Linked DNA regions of Homo sapiens: all the other regions are linked to region 4. Evidence: promoter capture Hi-C in human tissues and cell types (Jung and others, 2019). All regions are on one chromosome and are shown on one strand. The core of a region is centred on a gene start or on the middle of the fragment in contact, and the rest is flanking DNA. Distances in the headings are between cores, read along the strand shown. Region 1 has its middle 62 kb from the start of MIR4729. Region 2 holds the start of MIR4729 (microRNA 4729). Region 3 overlaps YPEL2 (yippee like 2). Region 4 holds the start of GDPD1 (glycerophosphodiester phosphodiesterase domain containing 1).

What was found. The method cuts DNA at HindIII sites, captures the fragments that hold promoters and counts their contacts. A contact is called where the count stands out against the background at its distance.
Region 1: a contact is called between a fragment that was not itself captured here and the fragment with the promoter of GDPD1 in region 4, in 4 of the 25 tissues and cell types used here (bladder, dorsolateral prefrontal cortex, lymphoblastoid cells and 1 more).
Region 2: a fragment that was not itself captured here is called in contact with the fragment with the promoter of GDPD1 in region 4 in 1 of the 25 tissues and cell types used here (hippocampus).
Region 3: a contact is called between a fragment that was not itself captured here and the fragment with the promoter of GDPD1 in region 4, in 1 of the 25 tissues and cell types used here (small bowel).

What each region holds. Positions count from the first base shown.
Region 1 is chr17:59,426,038-59,429,455 of GRCh38, forward strand. No RefSeq gene overlaps it. Among named protein-coding and RNA genes, the nearest start is that of MIR4729, 62 kb to the left of the region's middle. RefSeq lists a silencer at 1,677-1,806. The HindIII fragment of the contact is 4,924 bases long and covers 1-3,418 here.
Region 2 is chr17:59,364,751-59,368,338 of GRCh38, forward strand. All of the region lies in intron 2 of YPEL2 (yippee like 2), which reads left to right. It overlaps MIR4729 (microRNA 4729), which reads left to right and starts at 1,333; the gene lies at 1,333-1,404. RefSeq lists enhancers at 902-1,671, 1,672-2,441 and a silencer at 2,998-3,292. The HindIII fragment of the contact is 4,265 bases long and covers 1-3,588 here.
Region 3 is chr17:59,347,847-59,351,414 of GRCh38, forward strand. All of the region lies in intron 1 of YPEL2 (yippee like 2), which reads left to right. Among named protein-coding and RNA genes, the nearest start is that of MIR4729, 16 kb to the right of the region's middle. The HindIII fragment of the contact is 6,533 bases long and covers 1-3,568 here.
Region 4 is chr17:59,219,182-59,222,452 of GRCh38, forward strand. It overlaps GDPD1 (glycerophosphodiester phosphodiesterase domain containing 1), which reads left to right and starts at 1,330. Exons shown (of 10, transcript NM_182569.4): 1 at 1,330-1,570. The coding sequence starts at 1,429. RefSeq lists an enhancer at 1,356-1,906. The HindIII fragment of the contact is 11,394 bases long and covers 1-3,271 here.

The sequences.
Region 1 (3,418 bases), core at 462-2,961, 210 kb after region 4:
CCCCCAAAGCCTTGGGTCATGTCTCCAACAGGCTCGGGTGAGTGGGAAGTTCGGCCTCATAGAAGGCCCCTTGCTGGTGCGGTTCATGAGGACGATAAATTAGCAAAGCTGAGGTGCGCCCATCACGGTGAGCAGTTCTCTATTGCTTCTCTTCTGGGGAATGAACAGGCTTCATTTGCTTTTCCCTGAGGCCAGGTTTCTAACCCAAATCTGTCCCTGGAGTCTTTGGCCTGAAATAAGAAAGGAGTCTTGAGTCAGCAGGAGAGCCACTCCTCACTATGAATTACACAGCAACTCCTTGTGGATCTGCCCGTACCCTTCCCCCGGGCACACATCAATCAATCGAAGTATTTCTCAAATATCTACCCCATACCCAGAACTGGGCATTTAGGTACGTGGTTCAAGTTTCAGATTCTTCCAGCAAATGGTTTGTATGGGGTAAGAAAAAGGATTGGAGGTCAGGTAGGCAGCTGAGTAATCCCCAACTCTGCCTTTTTAAAAGTGGTTTCAGTTGCGCATCCTTGGAATTGATTCTGGGCAGCTGTTAATTGCAAAACTCACTGCCAATTATCGATAGCTAAAGTGGCATTGGAGAGCTTCTCATGGTAAAAATAGGGGCAGGTAATAGATGAGAAAATAGCTTTACATTTGAGAAGAGAGGATGGGAACATATTGTCTCAATCTTGCTGTGTTCGAGGTTTCCTTTGTCAGCCTGGGTTCTCTCCCAAGACTGGCCAGCAAAGTCTACTTAGTGACCTCCAGCAAATAGTCCACCAGCAAGCTACTTAAGATTAGAGCAGGCTGGGCGTGGTGGCTCACGCCTGTAATCCCAGGACTTTGGGAGGCTGAGGCGGGTGGATCACGAGGTCAGGAGATCGAGACCATCCTGGCTAACATGGAGAAACCCCGTCTCTACTAAAAATACAAAAAATTAGCTGGGCGTGGTGGTGGGCGCCTGTAGTCCCAGCTGCTCGGGAGGCTGAGGCAGGAGAATGGCATGAACCCGGGAGGCGGATGTTGCAGTGAGCTGAGATCGTGCCACTGCACTCCAGCCTGGGCAACAGAGCAAGACTCCGTATCAAAAAAAAAAAAAAAAAGATTAGAGCAAAACTTTATCTTGGCAGCAAGAACAGAGGGGATCTCTGCTGAGTTCAGGGCATCCTGTTTCTCACCGGGCTCAGTCACATTAAACAGCCAATACCAGTTTTAGGAAAATCCATGTTGAATTTTAAATGTATTTTGGCTCATTTGGGGGGTTATGATTGTCCAATTCAGCTGGTAGTTTGTGTATCAAACTTCAAATCGACAAACGATGTTTATTCAAGGAAGTTTCTTGAAGCCTAGATGGTACATGTTTACCTTAAAAAGCAAAACCAAAAAATTCCAAAAAACAGAAACAGGAAAAAGTGCCCTGGTGAGTAAAACCAAAAGCATGTGGCAGACAGACACAATGCAGGCCTGAGTATTTTGAACAATGCTCATGGCCCCAGCCTTGACACTGGGGAAACTGGGAATGTGGTCGCAGACTTCCTATGTCAAGTGTTTCCCTGGATTTCCTGGAATCCAACTTGAAGTGCCATTTCCCCTGGTGCCACCAAGGAGTTAAGCTTTGGTTCTGTTCTCCCAGTGACTAAGAATGCTCTGTGTGGCTCTGAGATCATCCAGAAAGAAACTGACAGTCGGCGTGGGAAGAGTGTGAGCTTTCAGTGCTCTTGAAATGCCTTTGATGGGCATGGTGAGAGAGCAAAAGGCTTATTGCCACCTAGTGCCCCTGATTGTGTAATTTCGTCGTGAATTCTTGTTTCTTCTTTTGAATTTTGCATAATTTTAAATGAAGATCTCTAACTCCTTGGGGAGCTTGATATTGTGATGTGTGAGTTATTCTATGGAGCTATTCTATGTGAGCTATTCTATATTTTAGACAGCAAACGTATCCCACCACTTGGAAATATCACCCATTTTGATTGAAAACAAAGTAGAATCAATGACCTGACCAAATCACACGTGTGTGTGTGAGGGAGACTGGGTCTTTCCACTCCTGATGTTTTCTTTCTTCTGAAAGGAGTCCAAACACTCCTTGCTTCTCTCCACCCGCCCCCTCTTCCCTGAGAAGGAGGAGTGGTTTAATATGACTGGTGAGTTTGGAAGGAGGAACTGTGCCTTATATCATCCTCTCTTTTCTTCTTGGGAGCAAGCTTCGCTCCCGTGGGGTGGGAAGAGTAGGCCCATTCCAGCTCAGCTGCCTGTCATCGAGCCGCCAAGTCTGCCTAACTCTGAAGTTGAGTATCGGGAAGCTCGATTGTCTGATGATATAAGCCACGTTCTCTAATATCAGCTTTATCAGTAGAAAAGGTTATTTTTGGTCCTCATCTAGCTTGCTGCTATCTTCTGATTCAATTCAAAATTCACAGAGAAGGGAGCAGACTGCTATTTTGGGGCCTCCTCAAAGACCCCAACATATTTACTGGAAGATTTCCTGTGATTAGAAAAATCCCAGTGTTGGGGTAAGGTCCAACTTATAGATCCACATCATCACTTTCTTATATAACACCAGATTCCTTAGCTGTCAGCTGAGTAAAAGAGAGTTTATGGGTGTTCCTTGCAGCTAAAATGCATCCATTCAAAAGTTATTTATTGAATCCTTACCACGTGCCAGGGGACACATAAGTGATCAAGAGAAACAGTCTTGGGCCGGGCGCAATGGCTCACGCCTGTAATCCCAGCATGTTGGGAGGCCAAGTTGGTTGGTCATTTGAGGTCAGGAGTTTGAGACCAGCCTAGCCAACATGGTGAAACCCCATCTCTACCAAAAATACAAAAAATTAGCCAGGCATGGTGGCAGACACCTGTGGTCCCAGCTACTTGGGAGGCCGAGGCACAAGAATCACTTGAACCCAGGAGGCGGAGGTTGCAGTAAGCCAAGATCACACCACTGCACTCCAGCCTGGGTGACGGTAGTGAAACTCTGTTTCAAAACAAAAAAAAAAGAAAGAAAAAAAAGAGAGAGACACAGTCCCTGCTGTCACACAGTTTATAATTTAACTAGGGTGTATCAATTTAAAAGTTTAATGTTTCAAGTGAAAGAAAACAATCTCAAATAGGCTTGAGTAATACAGGAATTTATTGTCTCACTGGAGATCCAGGCACAATTTGATCCAAGATTCAAACAGCATGGATCCATTTCTTGGCTCTGCTTCCTTTGAGTTGGATTCATTCTTTAGCCACCACATGTTGGAACCCCTCTCTCCTGGCAGCTTCAAGTTTTCCACGACGGCTGCAGCAGATCTAAGACATACCATTTACCAGGCTGACAAGAGTCCAAGTTCCAGCAATCCCTGGAGGTCCATCCTGAGAAGGCCATCTCAGGTTATAGACCAGCATAAATCGGGAGCTCACAGGACAGAAGACACTGATTGGC
Region 2 (3,588 bases), core at 627-3,126, 150 kb after region 4:
GATTACAGGTGCCTGCCACCACATCGGCTATTTATTTATTTATTTGTTTATTTCATTTTTTGTAGAAGATGGGGTTTCGCCATGTTGGCCAGGCTGATCTCGAACTCCTGACCTCAGGTGATCCACTGGCCTCGGCCTCCCAAAGTGCTGGGATTACGGGTATGAGCCACTGCGCCCATCCGCCTTTGCGTCTTAATGGCCTCACTGGCAAATGGGAATAATAGTAATATTAGATACCTGATAGGATTTTTGTGGAAATTAAATGAGGTTATTGATGTGAAGTTCTTACCACAGGGCCTGGCACGTGATAAGTGCTCAATAAATGTTGGAAGCTAGTGTTATTCTATGAATAGTCACTAAAGAAAACCAAATGGAAAGTGACAGAACTAGGGCCTGGCACCCCAACAAGCCTGGCACTCTTGCTTGTTGCCCTTGTTTTTGGAGAGTCTCAGCAGTTGCCCTTGAGCCCTACAGTTGTCATCTGTCGTCTTTTGAGGCCTCTCCTCATGGAATCGCTTGTTCCTTATCCCAGGGGGACCAGCAGGTCTCAGGAGGTGATGAAATAGCAGCAGCACCTTCCACCACAGCTTTCTGGGGCCTTACCTGCAGGCAGCAGCGAAGCCTCTCTAGAATGTAAATGGAAAAGCCTGTCCCTGCCTCCTTCCCTTTTAGTCTGTCAGGTGGTTACTGTGCCTCTGACCCACCCGAGGACCTCAGTTGGCTGTGACACAGCAGCCCAGGCGGCTGGAAGAGAAGTCCCTGGCCTGGAGAGTGAAGCTGGAGCTGAGAGTTGCTTGTCAGTTTGATTCCTTCTGTGACACTTCGGGTGGGGGGGAATCTTTTGAAAGAAACCACTTTCTTTATCTTGAAAGAACAAAACCAAAAGAGAATCTCTGATAACCTTTGTTTCCAAAGCACTCAGCAAAGCTGCTGAGAGGAGGGTTTGACCTGGTGACCCAGAGTATTATCTCTGGGGTAAGGGCTGCCCAGCCAAGGGGAGCTTTAGCTGTTTCCCTCCTCTCCCTGGCTTATTGCTGGTGGCTGGACAGTGAGTTGGAGGAGGAGGGGGAGAGGAAGAGAGGAGGAGATGGCTCTGCCAGCTGCCGCTAGAAACAACAACATCTAATCAGTCCATAAACTCCCTCCCCTCCAGACTACAGTGATGTCAAGAGGTGGAGCAGGTGGCACTAGTTCTCCCCTCCCCTTTAGCCCCTGACACCTTTGGGTCTTTGAAGGGGTAAATTATGATCATCAAAAGGAAAATTCTCTATCTTTGGGGGCCCAGGAGCTCCTTTTCCTTCTTGTTAGGGTTGGCTCCACCAAGAGCAATTTTCTGTTTCCTCATTTATCTGTTGGGAAGCTAACTGTGACCTTAGCGTCCCAGCAGATAAATGAGGAAACAGAAAAGTGTTTCCTCACCAAAACAAAAAATCCCTGAGCAAACCCTCCTGCAGAGGGCCCTGTCATTTATTCCACATTGTGTGAGCTCCTCTTACGTGTTAGACCCTGGGAATTACAGTGGCAAACAGATGCAAGCTTTGCCTTCACTGAGCCTGTCACACGGTACCCTTTGGTTCCTGGAAGACCCAGCACCTGAAAAAGCGGTTGGTGGCAGCAGCAACAAGGATCTCCTTCCTGAGCCTGGCCCCTAAGGTTATCCGGGGCAGCTGAAAAACCAGCATTTCCATAGTGCTTTCCATTCAGTTTGCCTAATTTTCATGAGAGGCTGAAGTGCCTTTTGTTTCCCTGATGGTCCCTGTCCTCCCCTGCAGAGTCGGCCTGAGCTAGCCCAGCCGAGTCGGGCAGCCCCTTGTTCTCTGATGCATCTTTGGAGGAATGTCTGTATTCTCAGGACCAGGCCTCTCCCCACTGGGTGGGGGCTGCTTTGTTTACATTCCTGACCTTCTGAAAGCTGCCAGCTTTATCCACAGCTGGCCTTTCCCCTTCAGATGCCAAATGTTCCAAACGACAGGTACAACTCTGAGAGGGCCGTTAAGGTTCATGCCAGAAACATTCACCTAGGAAGCCTGAGGAGAGAGGAAGCCAGTGAAACTAGACTTCATGGAGCTTTTTGAAGCTCGAAGCCCCCATATTTCTTGATTCTTCCCGCAGCGGGAGAAAAAAAGAAAAAACACAAAGTGTGTCTGTGTGGGAGGAGAGTTCCTCCCTGTCCATCTCTTTCTCTATAAAAACAAGAGGCCAACCTGCTCTGAGCATCGTGGGGGCAGGTGCTGGGTAAATACACGAGAAAGGAAAGCCAATAAGATAAGGTCTGACAAATCTAGGTCACCCGGCTGCTGCCAGGTACCTGTGTGACTGGCCACCTTGAAACTGACAGGAGGAGTATGGACTTTTGTTCGAGGCTCAGCCTGGCTGATTTCTCATGTCTTTGTTTATTTATTCAGTAAACATTAATTGAGTGCCATTATGTGCCAGGCCATGTGCTAGGTGTTGCAGGTCCCTGTGTGCCTCTGACAGGCAAAATCTCCTCCTGGATCCCAGGCCTGTAACCAGGGCTAAAAAAAGAAATGACTTCATTCAAAAGCCAGTTGGTTCACTAACTTCCAGAGTAGGGGCAGCCAGTCCCTTGGTAGAAGGGAGGGGCTGTTTGCAGTCTTGATTCCCTGTTTTTTGGGCTAGATCCAAAGGTCTGCAAAACTTTTTCTATAAAGGCCAGATAGTATTTTACGCTTTGCTGGACATAGGGTCTCCACTCAAATCTGCAGCCACAGAGAATATATAAACAAATGAGCATGGATGTTTTCCAGAAAAACTTTATTTGCAAAACAGGTGAAAGGCCCAATTAGGCCCTTGGACTGGTTTACTTAACCCTAGGTAAGATGATTAGAATGACTGTTGTGAAATGGGTGTTGGAGAAATAGGTTTCTGTGATTTCAAGAGGAATCTCAAACCAGCATGGTGGCTTGTATGAAGAGTGTAGGGGTTGAGGCACTGTGCTAATTGACAAGGTCTTAATTGACACCCTGGTGAGAATTCTATTCCATAGGCCAGACTTCAGCCCCAGCCGTCTAGCACCCACAGGTTCCCACCATAGGTTACAAGGTGATCAAGCCAGATAGGGCACATAGTTTCCTACAGTGTCATCACTGTAATGGGAAGACAGTGTGGGGCCCTGCTGAGGAGAGTCTGTGGCACCATTTGAAAAGCCTTGAATGAGGGTCAAGCCACCTCTGCTCCAGACCTGGCTTTGTGCTAAATTTTCAGTGTGGCATTGAGCAAGTCACTTAACCTCCCTCATCACCCTGCATATATTAAATCCTACTGTATGAAGCACTGGGGATACAGAAATGGATACAAATACAGAAATGGATGAAATTCTCTTTTTTTTTTGAGACAGAGTCTCACTCTGTTGCCCAGGCTAGAGTACAGAGGCATGATCACAACTCACTGCAGCCACAACTTCCCAGGCTCAGATGATCTTTTCACCTTAGTCTCCTGAGTAGCTGGGACTACAGACATGCGCCACCATGTCCGGCTAATTTTTCTATTTTTTGTAGAGATGAGGTTTCTCCATATTGCCCAGGGTGGTCTAAAATTCCTGGGCTCAAGTGATCAGCCCGCCTTGGC
Region 3 (3,568 bases), core at 236-2,735, 130 kb after region 4:
AAGAGGAAAAATAGGATGTTCCCAAAGGACCCCAAACTCCATGTCTGTCTGAACTCTCAGGCCTTCTCCTTTTTCTTTTTCTTTCTTTTTTTTTAAGCAGCAGCATCTGTTTTTCTCCCCCATTGGCCATTAAAAATAATAGATGAAATTTTGGTGTGTATTGTGCGCCAGCTCTGTGTAAGCACTGAGATCATCTCACTTAACACCTAGAACCCCTGTGGAGGTTGGTCTTATTAGAGATAGGGAAGCTGAGGGTCAGAGTGGTTTCGTAACTTGCCAGAAGTCACGCAGCTAGAAAGGAGCAGAACTGGTTTGTGTGAGTCCAGAGCCCACTTCTTTTCCAGTCTTCACCTCCTCTCAGACACCCCATGGAAACAACAACACAGAGGCATGCCTTGGGGCCAGCCTTGTCTCATGTCTGGAGGAATTCCTTCCTGTAGAGAGTCCCACTTCTCAGGTCAGTTTCCGTGGCTCGGCATGTGGTGGTCCAGCCTTGCTTCCACATCATTCCTCACGTTCCTTTGTGGCTTAACAAGAGCGTCCCATCTCCCGCCCCTCCATCCTGGTGGCACTCAGAAGGTTCTGTTTTGAGTTCCAGCGGCAGTTACTCCCTTTTGGGGAAGGCCTGTTGGCCGGGGAGGCGGCATGGGGTGGGGGCTGGCCAGGTTGGCATGTGCTCCCTGTGCATTTGTCTCTCGAGGTGGTGTATCGAAGATCTTTGTTTTTAATCATAATATCTCACATATTTTCTTTCTGTGCTGCTCAGTGAAAGCTAGCTAGGGGTGGCGGCAAATCTTCCTTTAATTTCCACTGTGATGGATTATTAGTTCACTTAAAATGGTGTTTAATTTGCACATGTGCCCTGAGGCTTTTAAATATTAAGCTCATTTGATGACTGTTGGAAATCAATTTGGAACTCCACAGTTATGTTCTATGAGTTGGACTCATGAAGCCCCATGGACCCTGTTGCCCCATTAACAGGGGCTAAAGTTCAAAAATTAGAATGATGAGTTAAGCTCCATACTCTTAATTTCTTCCTTTAAAAAAAAATCAATTTTGGCTGGGCGCAGTGGCTCACGCCTGTAATCCCAGCACTTTGGGAGGCCGAGGTGGGCGGATCATGAGGTCAGGAGATCGAGACCACGGTGAAACCCCGTCTCTACTAAAAATACAAAAAGTTAGCCGGGCGTAGTGGCGGGCGCCTGTAGTCCCAGCTACTCGGGAGGCTGAGGCAGGAGAATGGCGTGAACCCGGGAGGCAGAGCTTGCAGTGAGCCGAGATGGCGCCACTGCACTCCAGCCTGGGTGACAGAGCGAGACTCCGTCTCAAAAAAAAAAAAAAAAAAAAAAAAATCAATTTTCTTTCCTAAGAATTGACTCAAAGAAGCTTTTAAAATTTTTGCTTAAAAGGGAAGAAGACAGTGCAGATGTTGATTTTTTGGTCCCCATCTCTCAGCTTGTTCCTCTCATGCAGCCTGCCCTCCCCTTTCTCAGCCCACAGGCCTTTTTTTTCTTTTTTTTTTTTTTTTTTTTGTTGAGACGGAGTCTCGCTCTGTCGTCCAGGCTGCAACCTCCGCCTCCCAGGCTCAAGTGATTCACCTGCCTCAGCCTCTCGAGTAGCTGGGACTACAGCTGGGACTACGGGCGTGCGCTACCATGCCTGGCTAATTTTTGTATTTTTAGTGGAAACAGGGTTTCACCATGTTGGCCAGGCTGGTCTCAAACTCCTGACCTCAAGTGATCTGCCTTGGCCTCCCAAAGTGTCTGGATTACAGGCGTGACCACCTTCCCCGGCCCCCACAGGCTGGCCTTTTGTTTTGTTTTGTTTTGTTTTGAGACAGAATCTCGCACTGTCACCAGACTGGAGTGCAGTGGCACGATCTCGGCTCACTGCAACCTCCACCTCGCAGGTTCAGGCGATTCTCCTGCCTCAGTCTCCTGAGTAGCTGGGACTACAGGCACACGCCACCATGCCCGGCTAATTTTTGTATTTTTGGTAGAGACGGGGTTTCACCATATTGGCCAGGATGGTCTCAATCTCTTGACCTCGTGATCCGCCCGCCTCAGCCTCCCAAAGTGCTGGGATTACGGGCATGAGCCACTGTGCCTGGCCCTACAGGCCTTTCTTGATCCTGCTTCTCCTTGCTTTCTACTTACCTCCTCTCATTTCTTCTAGTTTGTCCTGTACCAGTTGAACAAGATTCATATTTCAGCAAGCCGCTTTTTCTTCCCTTTTTCTTTTCTTTTTTTTTAATGCTCTGTCACCCAGGCTGGAATGCAGTTGGAGTGAACACTGTGCACTGCAGTCTCAACCTCCTGGGCTCAAGTAATCCTCTGGCCTCAGCCTCTCAAGTAGCTGGGATCACAGGCGCGTGCCACCATGCCTGGCTAAGTTTGAATTTTTTGTAGAGTTGAGGTCTTGCCGTGTTGTCCAAGCTGGTCTCGAACTCTTGGGCTCAAGCAATCCTCCTGTTTCAAAGTGCTAGGATTATAGGTGTGAGCCACCGCATCTGGCTTTTCCTTTTTTCTTCTTAGGAAAGGAGTCCCTCTCTAGGATGCCTGTTTATTCATATTTAAGAGCAATGGGGAGCAGAGTGACCCTGCCACAGCAAAATGTAAGGCTTCTTGTCTAGGCCTTCCAGAGCCTTTCTAGCACCAGACAGCCTGGGCCATTGCTTATATGGTAGATTTTTCTCTTGTCTTTTTAGGTTCAGAGCTGTGGTGAGGATGGAATGTGCATGTGTGTGTTTGTATGTGACACACTCACATTTAATACAAACAAGAAATGCTTATTTCACAGAAGGTAGCTTTGAATAAGTTTCGGGATTCAGATTTGAAGCTGAACATAACCAGAAACTTCTACCTGTAAACTTTTTTTGGGGGTTTCCTTCAGAGGAGAAGTGAGAGAAGAAATAATTCTACTCTGGGGAAATGTATAATTTAGAAGCTGTCTGCATGTATAAGAAAACAGACTCTGTATCTGCTCTCTAAACTCAGCCTGGCAGCCAGGGTCATTGTTTCTTTTTCTCCCCTCTGTGTTTGTGTAAGACGGATGGGTCTGGTGCTCTTTGTGCTCCCCAGCGGGCAGCTAAGGCTGTGGACTCTAGCAGCATTTGGCCTGGGGGAAGCCTACTGCTTGTTTTCCCCTGCCTGTCTTTCCTATTTCCTTACTCTAACTCACCACCCCTTCCTTTCCTGGATGTGCTGTCTATCCTGAAATGGAACAGGAGTATTAGAAAGGTGGAAGGGCCAGGTGCGGTGGTTCACACCTGTAATGCCAGCACTTTGGGAGGCTGAGGTGGGTTGATCACCTGATGTCAGGAGTTCAAGACCAGTCTGGCCAACATGGTGAAACCCTGTCTCTACTAAAAATACAAAAATTAGCCAGGCGTGGTGGCGGGCGCCTGTAATTCTAGGTACATGGGAGGCTAAGGCAGGAGGATTGCTTGAACCCGGGAGGCGGAGGTTGCCGTGAGCCGAGATCATGCCACTGTACTCCAGCCTGGAAGACAGAGTGTGAGACTCTGTCTTAAAAAAGAAAGAAAAAGAAAGGTTGAGGGTATTTCAGG
Region 4 (3,271 bases), core at 80-2,579:
AAGAGATTCTCCTGCCTCGGCCTCCTGAGTAGCTGGGATCACAGGCACACGCCACCACCCCTGGCAAATTTTTGTATTTTTAGTAGAGATGGAATTTCGCCATGTTGGCCAGGCTCCTGACTTCAAATGATCTGCCCGCCTCAGCCTCCCAAAGTGCTGGGATTACAGGCTTGAGCCACCGTGCCCAGCCACCCCCTATTTTCTTCTAATTTTCTTTTTATAGTTGAGATAGGGTCTTGCTCTGTCGCCCAGGCTGGGGTGCAGTGGTGCAGTCATAGCTCACTGCAGCCTCGATTTTCCAGGCTCAAGCAATACTCCCACTTCAGCCTCCCAAGTAGCGTGACTACAGGTGCACGCCACCACGCCGGGCTTATTTTGTTTTATTTTTTGTAGAGATGGGGTTTCGCCATGTTGCCCAGGCTGGTCTCGAACTCCCGGGCTCAAGCGATCCACCCTTCCTTCCCGGCCTCCCTAAGTGCTGGGATTACAGGCGTGGGCCACCGCGCCCGGCTGAATCAGGATTTTAAATATTCACTCTGCTTTTCTAGTCCTGTGGGAGATATGGTCTTCTCCGTAAAATTTCTCCCTCAGTCCTGGGTGATTTATTTCTTTTGCATTGAAGTGTGTGGCTTTTCGTGTGTTAGCAGTTTGTAATTTGTCGGGTAAAAGGAAAACTAGTAGGGCCTTCTGGAACTTAGTTATCTGTCTTTCTAGGACTTTTAGGTAATACCTTATAACCTTAACAAAGTTTCCTTATTTTATACGGACTTGTAAGTCAACAAATACTTCTACAGTGCCTATTGTGTACAAAGAATGAGGATTGCACTTTCACAATGAAATGAGGGAGGACAGGGGCCGATCTCTCAGATATTTGACTGATAAACCAGTACCTTTTCTAGTATATGCGACCATAGGGGAAATTCTCTCTAGGCTAGATAAACGGAGGAGTTTATTTAGTGTTTTAGCAAGCTTTATCGCCTCCATAGGTACAAATTATTTGCATTTTCTAGAGCAAGGGATAAGACGCGCCCTGGAATCTTTCCTTTTTGATGTGGATTTTCCAATTAGGAAAGGCTGCCCGTGAATAGTCTTTTCTGCTTGAGTGATGGCCAACACACTGGCAGGTTTGCAAGCTTTCTCTTCATGAGGGTCCGTCCACAGAGCTAGGTGACAAACGCTCAGTCCAGGATCTCTGCAGGTTCCTACACGGGAGCCGGAGAGCGCCTGCGCGTCGGAGCCTCTTTGTTGCTGGGGCGCTGGGGTCCAGCTGCGCGTGCGCAGTAGGCCGGCACCGACAAGTGCGCTGCACCAGTGGCACCGGCTGGGGGCGAGCCGACCTCGAGCAGCCGCCGCCGCCGCCGTCGTTGCTACTGCCGCAGCGGAGTTCAGAGGGCCCGGAGGTGGGAGACTTCCCACACGGTGACTGAGATGTCGTCCACTGCGGCTTTTTACCTTCTCTCTACGCTAGGAGGATACTTGGTGACCTCATTCTTGTTGCTTAAATACCCGACCTTGCTGCACCAGAGAAAGAAGCAGCGATTCCTCAGTAAACACATCTCTCACCGCGGAGGTGAGAGGGGTCCCCAGAACCCGATGACGGAGGTGGGGGAGGCTGAGGGTCCTTTGCGGCTCCGCAAAAGGCAGCCGGGTGCCAATCCCTGAGAGTTTGAGGAAGAATGGGGTTGTGTGAATTGAGGGCTCTTCCGGAGGTGAAGGCTGTGTGAAGGGAAGGTCTCCTGAGGGGAGGGAAGGAGAGGGATTCCCGGTCAGAGCCACGGCGGGGGTCTCTCGAGGGCAGCAGTGTGAGGGGTTCTCTGAAACGGGAAAGACACGGTCGAGAATGAAGGGTAGGTGGAGCGTTTCTCGGCGGATGGAAGGATGATCGCAAGGTCCCTTCCTAGCAGCAAGACACAAAGGGGGAGCGCCGTGCAGAACCGAGGGTACCCCGCGGGGGGCACCGGGAGCACACTGCTCCGAGCGAGCTAGTGGCTGAGTGGATGGGAAGAGCCGAGGCGACGAGGAGGGCTGGGGATTTGCATGAAGCTGGACGAGCTGTAACCCCTTGTCTGCGGTGCTGGGGGCCCGTCCCACCCCCACGTTCCGAGCACTCATAATTGAGAAGAGAGGGAAACCGAGTCCCCCGAGCCAGGGACATTTCCCAAGGTCACAATTAGAGCTAGGGCTGAACTGAGACAGGAGCTACAGCGTCCTGGTCCTCAGGGCTGGAAACCTTGCATCTTTTTTTTTTTTTTTTTGAACACTGCAATAAATAAATAAATAAATAAATAAATAAATAAACACGCAAAGACACGTGGATTTTCAACAGACTAAAAATGATTTCGTTTAGGACAGGACAGTATTGTTTAAAGAAAACAAAAATAAGTTTCTTTTGGAAAAGTGTTTTGCTAAAAGGAGCCCAGGTAGTCCACCCTCTAATTTCCCAGATAACAGGCCAAATCTTTGCTTCTTCATTATTGTGTAATAATGTGTCTTCATTGCATTTCAACTATGATGTATAAAGTGCGGTGAAATTGGATTATTTTCAATCAATTTTAACTGTTCTTTAAGGCTGAATCTTAAACCGGTTTAAAATTTGCTTGAAATTTAATACACACTTGAAATGATAATTTCTAGGAGTTTACAGTCTAAAACTTGGTGTAGTACCATAATCACTTTACTAACAAGTATTGGCCAAGGAAAAAGGTTTTGAAATATAAATACGGAAGTACATTATCATTCTTCTATATAATTTTATTAGTTAAGCATAGTTCTAATGAGTGACTTCAATAGTATTCTAGCCTTCCCACTCATGAAAAGCCTCAGAGGTTTTAAAGGGTGGTCAGCCAAATGCCTTGTTATTGTTTATTTGGGTTATCTGTTTTAATAGCTACCTGGTTAAACTGTAGGATGACATTTAACTACTAAGGTGCCTTCAACCATTGGAACCAGGGACCGACTTTTAGTATTCAAGTTGCTGTCACAGAAGCAATTTTCTTTTTTCTTTTTGTGTTTTTGTTTGTTTGTTTTTTTGTTTGTTTGTTTTGAGATGGAGTCTCGGTCTGTCACCCAGGCTGAAGTGCAGTGGCGCGATCTCGGCTCACTGCAAGCTCCTCCTCCCGGGTTCACGCCATTCTCCTGCCTCAGCCTCCCGAGTAGCTGGGACTACAGGCGCCCGCCACCACACCCAGTTAATTTTTTTTATTTTTAGTAGAGACGGGGTTTCACTGTCTGAGCCAGGATGGTCTCGATTTCCTGACCTCGTGATCCGCCC